Regions from separate parts of the Homo sapiens genome. Here region 1 is linked to region 2. The links are contacts of gene promoters, found by promoter capture Hi-C in human tissues and cell types (Jung and others, 2019). All regions are on one chromosome and are shown on one strand. Each heading gives the region's core, a stretch centred on a gene start or on the middle of the fragment in contact. The rest is flanking DNA. Distances are from core to core; before and after follow the strand shown.

Region 1 (3,880 bases), core at 1,084-3,583, 390 kb after region 2:
CCTCTCCAGTGACATCAACCTACTGAATGCTCCTCCCAAAGCCCAGTACTTTCCCCAAGTCTCTGCCTTACTTGTCTCTATTTATGTAGTCTTCCCTCCACTTTTCTTGTTTTGGGTTTTAAGGAGCAGAGAGTTGAATAGGCAAGAAGGAAGAAAGAAGACAGAAGGAAGAAGCTCCGCCGTACAGAGATGGGGCGTGGGGGGCGCTCCAAAGCCAAAAGAGGAGGTCCCCCTCCCTCCACTTTTTTAATACTAAATTTAATTTTAAAACAACTCAGTATCAAAAAATGGCAAGAACAGTACAAATAACTTACTTTTTCCTAAATTATTTGAAAGTGAGCTGTTGACACAATGGCTCATCACCTCCTAATACTTTAGTGTAAGGGTGGGCAAACTCTGGCCTGTGGCCAAATCTGGCCCCTCCAGCTGTTTTTACATGGCCCTCAAGCTAAGAATGCTTTTTCACATTTGTAAATTGCCAGGGAAAAAGTCAAAAGAAAAATATTTCATGATACATGAAAATTAATTATAAGGAATTCAAATGTCAGTGTCTATTAAAAAAGTTTCATTGGGAGGCCGGGCGCGGTGGCGCATGCCTGTAATACCAGCACTTTGGGAGGCCAAGGCAGGCAGATGACCTGAGGTCAGGAGTTCGAGACCAGCCTGGCCAACATGGCAAAACGCTGTCTCTACTAAAAATACAAAAATTAGCTGGGTACGGTGGCTCACACCTGTAATCCCAGCTACTCAGGAGGCTGATATAGGAGAATCCCTTGAACCCAGGGGGTGGAGGTTGCAGTGAGGCGAGATGGCACCACTGCACTCCAGCCTGGGAGACAGAACAAGACTCCATCTCAAAAAAAAAAAAAAAAAAAAAGTTTCACTGGAAAACAGCCATGCATATTCATTTGCATCATTTACAGTTGCCTTCACACTGTAATAGCAGAGTTGAATAGTTGAGACTGAAACCATATGGCTCACAAAGCCTAAAATATTATCCAGTCCTTAATAGAAAAAGTTTGCCAACCTCTCCCTCACCATGTGTAATTCCTACAAACAAGAACATTCTCCTACATAACCACAATACAACCATCAAAATCAGAAAATTGATATTCACACATTACTACCACCTTCTTTACAGATCCCATTCAAGTTTCACAGATTGTTCCAATAATACCTTACACACCTAAGGATCCAATCCAGGATCATGTTTGCATTTGGTTGTCATGTCTCTAGTCTCTTTGGATCTACAATCTTCAGTCTTTGGATCTACAATCTTCAGTCTTTCCTTCCAAGGACTGTCATGAAATCCTTAAGGATGTCCCTTGATTTGAGGTTGTCTGATGTTACCTTATGATAATATTCAGGTTATGCGTTTTGGGCAGGAATATCATAGAAGTGATGCTGTGTTCTTCTCAATGCATTTCGTATCAGGTGATACATGATTTCAATTTGCCCCATTAGTGGTAACGTTAACTTTGATCACTTCATTAAGGTGATGTTTGCCAGGCCTCTCCATTGTAAAGTTACTCATTTTCCCTTTGTAATTAAGTAGTGTTTTGTGGGTTTTCTCCACTTCAATTACTGAAATTCTATTCAAAGAAACAGTTCAAATGCCACCACCTCCTTCAAGCTTTCCTAGCTCCTCAATTTCTCATTCCTCTATCCTACTAGAGCTTTTTGCACCTTTATCAGTATTTAATTTTGTCTTAAATAGTAGTTAACTGGCTGGGCACAGTGGCTCATGCCTGTAATCCCAGCACTTTGGCAGGCCAAGATGGGCGGATCATGAGGTCAGGAGATAGAGACCATCCTGGCTAACACAGTGAAACCCCGTCTCTACTAAAAATACAAAAAATTAGCCAGGTGTGGTGGCACACACCTGTAGTCCCAGCTACTCAGCAGGCTGAGGCAGGAGAATCACTTGAATCCAGGAGGCAGAGGTTGCAGTGAGCTGAGATCGCACCACTGCACTTCAGCCTGGCTGACAGAGTGAGACTCCGTCTCGAAAAAAATAAACAAAATAAATAAACAAATAGTAGTTACTAATTACCATCACCAACTATAGTTTATAAGCAATAAATAACAGACTAGAGCATCAGGGCTCTGGAGTTGGAAGACTTAGATTCAAATCCCAACTTTGTCACCAACAACTATGTAACTTGAGGTAAGTTACTTCATCTCTTCCAACCTGATTCCTATTCTTCAACTGGAAAATGGAATGAATAATCCTCACTGAATAAATGGTTATGAGGATTAAATAAAACACCCTGTGTAAAGAATTTACCAGAGTCCAGCTGGGTGCAGTGGCTCACGCCTGTAATCCCAGCACTTTGGGAGGCTGAGGTGGGTGGATCACGAGGTCAGGAGATCGAGACCATCCTGGCTAACACGGTGAAACCCTGTCTCTACTAAAAATACAAAAAATTAGCCAAGTGTGGTGGTGGGCGCCCGTAGTCCCAGCTACTGGGGAGGCTGAGGCAGGAGAATGGTGTGAACCCAGGAGGCGGAGCTTGCAGTGAGCGGAGACAGCGCCACTGCACTCCAGCCTGGGTGACAGAGAGAGACTCCGTCTCAAAAAAAAAAAAAAAAAAAAAGAATTTACCAGAGTCCTAGGCTCAATAAACGTTAGCTAGCATTATTTTTTGCCATCCTTGATCATGAGAACCCTGTGTTCCATGCACCTGCTTCTTCTCTTCACTTCTTTTATGATACTAAATTTAATTTTAAAATAATACCAAAAAGTGGCAAGAACAGTACAAATAACTTTCTTTTCCCCAAATATTTGACAGTATGCTGCTGACACAATGCCTCTTCACCTCCTAATACTTTAGAGCAAGAGTTGACAAACTCTGACCTGTGGCCAAATCTGGCCCCTCCAACTGTTTTTGCATGGTCCTCCAGCTAAGAATGCATTTTACATTTTTATTTTTTTATTTTTTTGAGACGGAGTCCCGCTCTGTTGCCTAGGCTGGAGTGCAGTGGCACGATCTCGACTCACTGCAACCTCCGCCTCACAGGTTCAAGCGATTCTCCTGCCTCAACCTCCCAAGTAGCTGGGATTACAGGCACCCGCCATCACACTTGGCTAATTTTTGTATTTTTAGTAGAGACGGGGTTTCAACCATGTTGGCCAGGCAGTCTCGAACTCTTGACCTCAGGTGATTAGCCCACCTCGGCCTCCCAAAGTGCTGAGATTACAGGTGTGAGCCACCGCACCCGGCCACATTTTACATTTTTAAATAATTGAGAAAAAAGTACCAATGCTAACACAGCCAATAGCCAAGACAGCACCTTGCATAAGTAGGAACTGGATAAATGTTAACTGAATGGGATGTTTAATTTTAAGATGCTGATATTTCTTGGATTAGACTGATACCTCCAACTCCCTCAATGCCACCTGCTGGGTGCTGAATGTAGAGAGAGAATTGGAGCTCCAAGGACCAATAATTAAATGTAAATTATTATGGAAACTTTCACATGCATATTCTTTTTACTTCTAAAAAGCTACTATCGCATTTATGCTTATCTCATTCTCCCAAGACCCCAGTCAAGGGATTGAAGAAATTATTTATTTATTTTATATATATTTTTTGAGACAGAGTTTTGCTCTTGTTGCCCAGGCTGGAGTACAACGGCACGATCTCAGTTCACTGCAACCTCCGCCTCCTGGTTTCAAGCGATTCTCCTGCCTCAGCCTCCCGAGTAGTTGGGACTACAGGAGTGCACCACTACGCCTGGCTAATTTTTTTGTATTCTTAGTAGAGATGGGTTTTCACCATGTTGGCCAGGCTGGTCTCGAACTCCTGACCTCAGGTGATCCGCCCGCGTCTTTCTCCCAAAGTGCTGGGATTACAGGCGTGAGCCACCGCGCCCGGCC
Region 2 (5,087 bases), core at 1,295-3,794:
TCAGATACATTATTCACAGGAGAATCCTATTACATTACATTCTCTCACCAATAATTTTGAATCAAAATACATCATTAAATGAAAGTCAATCTGTATTTTCCCTTTATTAAAACATCTAGAAAAATACCACTTTATTTTTCAATGAATGTACTTTAGAAATGTTAACATAATTTATAAAAGTTTTAACATCTTACAACTGTCTAAAAAGGTTTCCATTCCCAATACCCTATTTACCCAAAATGCTAGGACATCTGAATTTTAAAAACCAACATTTTCGGCCAGGCGCGATGGCTCACACCTGTAATCCTAGCACTTTGGGAGGCCGAGGCAGGCGGATCACGAGTCAGGAGTTCGAGACCAGCCTGGCCAATACGGTGAAACCCCATCTCTACTAAAAATACAAAAATTAGCCGGGTATGGTGGCGGGTGCCTGTAATCCCAGCTGCTTGGGAGGCTGAGGCAGAAGAATTGCTTGAACCCGGGAGGCAGAGGTTGCAGTGAGCCGAGATCGTGCCACTGCACTCCAGCCTGGGCGACACAGCGAGACTCCATTTCAAAAAAAAAAAAAATTTTTCCTGGCTGACCCAATTTAACAGGGGTTGGTTCTTTCAACATATAAGCAGAAAATGAAGTATACGTATCATCTTCAAAGGACTACCATGAAACCAAAATCGGGTTTTGCAATACCCAACTAAAGCATCAGAAGACAGGGTCATCTTACTTGGAAACTGAGTATTGAAAAAGTACAGGCTAACCCCCTGAATGTTTTTCAGGAAACAGCATTCACACTCTGCTATCCACAATTTTCAAAATCTTCATTAAAGGCCCTGAAAATCCTGTTTGCTAAGCCTGCTGGAATTCTGTGGTTGACAGTCATCTTCCCTCAAAACTTAACTGTCCATATTATCTATTTTCGATTTTATTAGGTCACCTTGAGATTATTCTCTCCTCTGAAAAGCATTTGCGGGCTTTAGTTATCAGTATGTCTCTACCGGTAATTTAAAAATCAATAAAGCTCATACACCTTGCAGCCAACTCATATTTTATAGTGCTTGCTAATATATATATATGTGTGTATATATATATATTTCTCAGGGATCAAAAGGCTAACATGAACTGCTTCAAACTTTGGTGAATCTGCATTATATCCTTAGAACATCCTGAGACTCTCCTGTATTGTGCTGCAGCTATACAGCAGGCGCATGATCACAAGGCTTTTTAACAGCCCCCAGATCCCTTACTGCTGCAAAACTTCTCATAAGCGTTCTATGTACTAGACTGTTAACAGTGCTGAGTTAAAATTGTTAAACTGCTTTACCTATTTATTTACCAATCCTATCATCTCAGGGAATTCAAACTCTTTAAACTGCCTTCTGAAACACATCTAGAGTGCTTTCGTACTGCTTTGAGTAGGATCTGCAGCGGGATAAAAACTTGAGTTCTGAGATTCATCCCGACCCAAATTGCAGTTGCCAGGATATGCGGTAGTAATGCAGTGTTTTTTTTTTTTTTTTGAGACTCTACGGATGTATTTTACCTAGAAATAGCCAATCTCTACTAAATCCCTTTTAGTCTTCGAGATTTCCGCGGTAACAATTTCAACAGAAAGGTATTTTCAACAGCGAAAAAACAAGTTATTCTAATTTGGCCTTTATTTTTTACTCAATAGAGCTTGCCATCGTAAGGGCATTTTTCCATACTAACATTTGCAATTGAAGAAAGAAAAATCAAGCTTTTGGCACTAGTGACCCCATGCGTGGACGGCCTATTATCATCACGCTTCTCACAAATCTTTCGAGATAGGATTTGAGGTTAGGCTCACATCGGATCATAGTCCAGTAACTTACTGCTTTCCAAGCCCAATTAACAGCCTAATAACAGCAACACTTATGCCCCGCGAAATCTCAATGTATGACTAACCAATAAGGCGTCTGATAGCGAAGGCAACCTTTTCCCAGGTAAGGAAGAGGAAAAGCAGACAATGAAAGGAATTGATTTATCACAGTGAAGAAAGAAAAGAGAAGGACCCCAAAAGGATCCGTGAGAGCAAAATCCCGGGGTTCGGAAGCCTTGGCCTCAGCAATACTCTCCCCCAAGCCCTCTCAGCCCAACCCAACCACCCCTCTTGTCCCCTGGGAGCCAGCCCTTCGCCGGCACAGATCGGGCAGACCTGGAGGGCACAGCCCCTCACACGGCGCTCAGGCCCGGTTCCGAAATCCGATGCCAAACAGGCGGAAGCCGCAAGCCCCGCGGCCTGAGTTTCAGGGGTAAGAGAATGCGGGTGCGAGGAGATGCGGCCTCCCTCAAGCCGGGAGGCCTCTTGAGAAAGCAGAGACGGGAGAAGAGCGAGCTGGTTCGCAAGTCGGAGCAAAACTGGAAGGAAAGAGGGCTGGGAGCCGGAGATGAAGGAGGTTCTGGGCTAGACCAGCGCCTTCCCCGCATCCTCGGCGACGCCCGTGTTTACCTGAAAGTCTCGGTCTTCGTTGAAGCGGGAGAAGCGGTCCGCCATTTTGCCGCCTTCACTCCTCTCAGGACGACGCTCTCCGGTTCGCTCCTTCCCTCCTGCGACACCCACCCCTCCCCGGTTCCCCGCCTCCTCCCACGCCCACCGGGCGCGCGCAGCCGAGGGAGGGAGCGAGAATGCGCGTCCTGACGGGAGCCCCGCGGCGCAGGCGCCTGCCAGCCCTGGAGGCTGACCCTTCCCTCTAGCCCCTGCTCCGCGCGCGACCCGGAGCGACCCCGGTGGCCGCGCGTGCGCACTCCCGCCCGAGAGCCGCGAGAGCTTCCGGAGGGAAAGGTCAGAGGGGGCACCGTGCGGACAAATCTGGATGTTTTGCTGTTGCTCACTTCCGGGTGTCTTTTCTCACTGTTGCTTCCCCGTGTGCGCAGAAGTCCATCGTCTTCACTAAATAGCAGCATAATGTTGGGCCGAAAGCGCGACCTTAGAGCCAGACTGCTTAGCTTCGAATCTCAGCTCACCCTGAGGATTCAACGGTGAACGAGACAGGAATGATCTCCTCTTATGGGGATTTCATTCCAGTGGAAGAACTCACATAACTCGTAAAATAAATATTTTTAAATATCAACAAGTGCCACAAAAAAGTAAAACTGGCCACAGTGCTGAGAGGGACAGTCTCTGAAAGGACCTTTGACCGAGGCACAGCGAGGAGCCTACAGCATTGGGGCATAGGGAACGTTAGACCCAAAGGCCCAAAGACTGCAAGGAGCTTGACTTCGAGCCATCCTTTGAGAGAAGTATTTCACAAGGGACCGAAGTTGATCCAGATCGACTAAAGCTCTCTGGGCTTCAGTTTCCTTTTTATACAATAGGGAAATTGGATTCAGTAATCTCTGATGCTCCTGCCTAGCGCTGACTATGAGAGTCAAGAATCGGATTTTTCCATCCCTTCTGAGGACCTCACCCAGTGCTCCAGGACTCTTAGCCAAAATACATAAAACACATAGAAGGGTGGCAGGACTTCTCTCCTTTTGAAAAGAGTAGTTGACAGAAATCACACAATGGAAAAATGGGTCTTACCCTGCCCTGAAAGAGTCAAATGGAATGTAATTTTTTGAGGAAGGGTGTGTATTTTCTAGCTGTTACCCTTTGCCCCACCCATGCTTCAGCCTACGCTTCCATCTAAGGGGAGGCAGGGCACACAGAATTCAAACATTGTATTCTTTTTTTTTTTTTTTTTTTGAGACGGAGTCTCGCACTGTCGCCGGAGTACAGTGGCGCAATCTCGGCTCACTGCAACCTCCGCCTCCCAGGTTCAAGAGATTCTCCTGCCTCAGCCACCCTAGTAGCTGGGATTACAGGCGCCCACCACTAAGCCCAGCTCATTTGTTTTTTTTTTTTTTTGAAAAGGAGTCTCACTCTGTCGCCCAGGCTGGAGTGCAGTGGCGCGATCTCGGCTCACTGCAAGCTCCGCCTTCCGGGTTCACGCCATTCTCCTGCCTCAGCCTCCCGAGTAGCTGGGACTACAGGCGCCCGCCACCAAGCCCGGCTAATTTTTTGTATTTTTAGTAGAGACGGGGTTTCACCGTGTTAGCCAGGCTGGTCTCGATCTCCTGACCTCGTGATCCGCCTGCCTCGGCCTCCCAAAATGCTGGAATTACAGGCGTGAGCCACCTCGCCCGGACTTTTTTTTTTTTTTTTTTTTTTGTATTTTTAGTGGAGGCGGGGTTCACCATGTTGGCAAGGCTGGTCTGGAACTCCTGACCTTGTGATCCGCCCGCCTCAGCCTCCCAAAGTGCTGAGATTACAGGCGTGAGCCACCGAGCCTGGCTCAAACATTGTAAAGAGACTTAAGGGTAGCGTGAAAGATTGAATCACGAGGATACACATCACACTGACCTCTTCTTCCTCTCAAAAGCCCACTGAAATGACAGCAGAGGAATAAGAAGTGCATAAATTCACATGGACAAAGAGACCTGGAGAAGAGACAATGGCAGACAACAGATGTCAACATTTTGGAGGCCAGAGAGCACAGATAAATGGAAATGACTTTAGTAGAGTGGAGAAAAAGAAGTCATAGAGTAGGAGAAGACAGGAAAGAAGTTGATCAATGCTAAAGTGCACCAGAAAGGCTCAGGAAGTAGAAGCCCCTGGTGCCACTGATGATTCGATGTCTCTTTTCCCACCCAGGTAGCAAACTAGAGGTTTTCCCTCTGGAAAGGCTGAACCAGAGAGACTGGACTTTATAGGTGAGAAGGAGCAACCATGCTGAAAATGGGAGGATATGGTAAAGCCTCCATTCTGGCCAGAGAGTCTGACTTCTCCAACAAAAGAACATAGGAACCCTCTCTAGAAAATTGACTAGCTTAGGGAAGAAAATGCTTCATGTACCAACAATGGGAGTGAGGGTAGGGAGGTGTCTTCCTACATAAAGATCATGTTCCTGCCCAAATACTCCACAGAGAAGTCCATCATTCAGGAAGCCCCATCCACACAGACCTTTCACTCAGCTTTTTAGTGCCTTGTTATGAATGGATAGCCAAAGAATGCCAGACATTTGAAGGGAACCTGTAACAGGAAAGATAGAAACACCCCCAGCCTGGGCATTGTAGTAAGACCCCAACTCTGC

The links. The method cuts DNA at HindIII sites, captures the fragments that hold promoters and counts their contacts. A contact is called where the count stands out against the background at its distance.
Region 1: a fragment that was not itself captured here is called in contact with the fragment with the promoter of GPATCH8 in region 2 in 1 of the 25 tissues and cell types used here (small bowel).

Annotation. Positions count from the first base shown.
Region 1 is chr17:44,894,640-44,898,519 of GRCh38, forward strand. The region is part of intron 1 of EFTUD2 (elongation factor Tu GTP binding domain containing 2); the gene reads right to left. Among named protein-coding and RNA genes, the nearest start is that of EFTUD2, 2.9 kb to the right of the region's middle. The HindIII fragment of the contact is 4,028 bases long and covers 320-3,880 here.
Region 2 is chr17:44,500,862-44,505,948 of GRCh38, forward strand. It overlaps GPATCH8 (G-patch domain containing 8), which reads right to left and starts at 2,545. Exons shown (of 8, transcript NM_001002909.4): 1 at 2,465-2,545. The coding sequence starts at 2,509. RefSeq lists an enhancer at 2,279-2,378 and a silencer at 2,479-2,828. The HindIII fragment of the contact is 22,919 bases long and covers 1-5,087 here.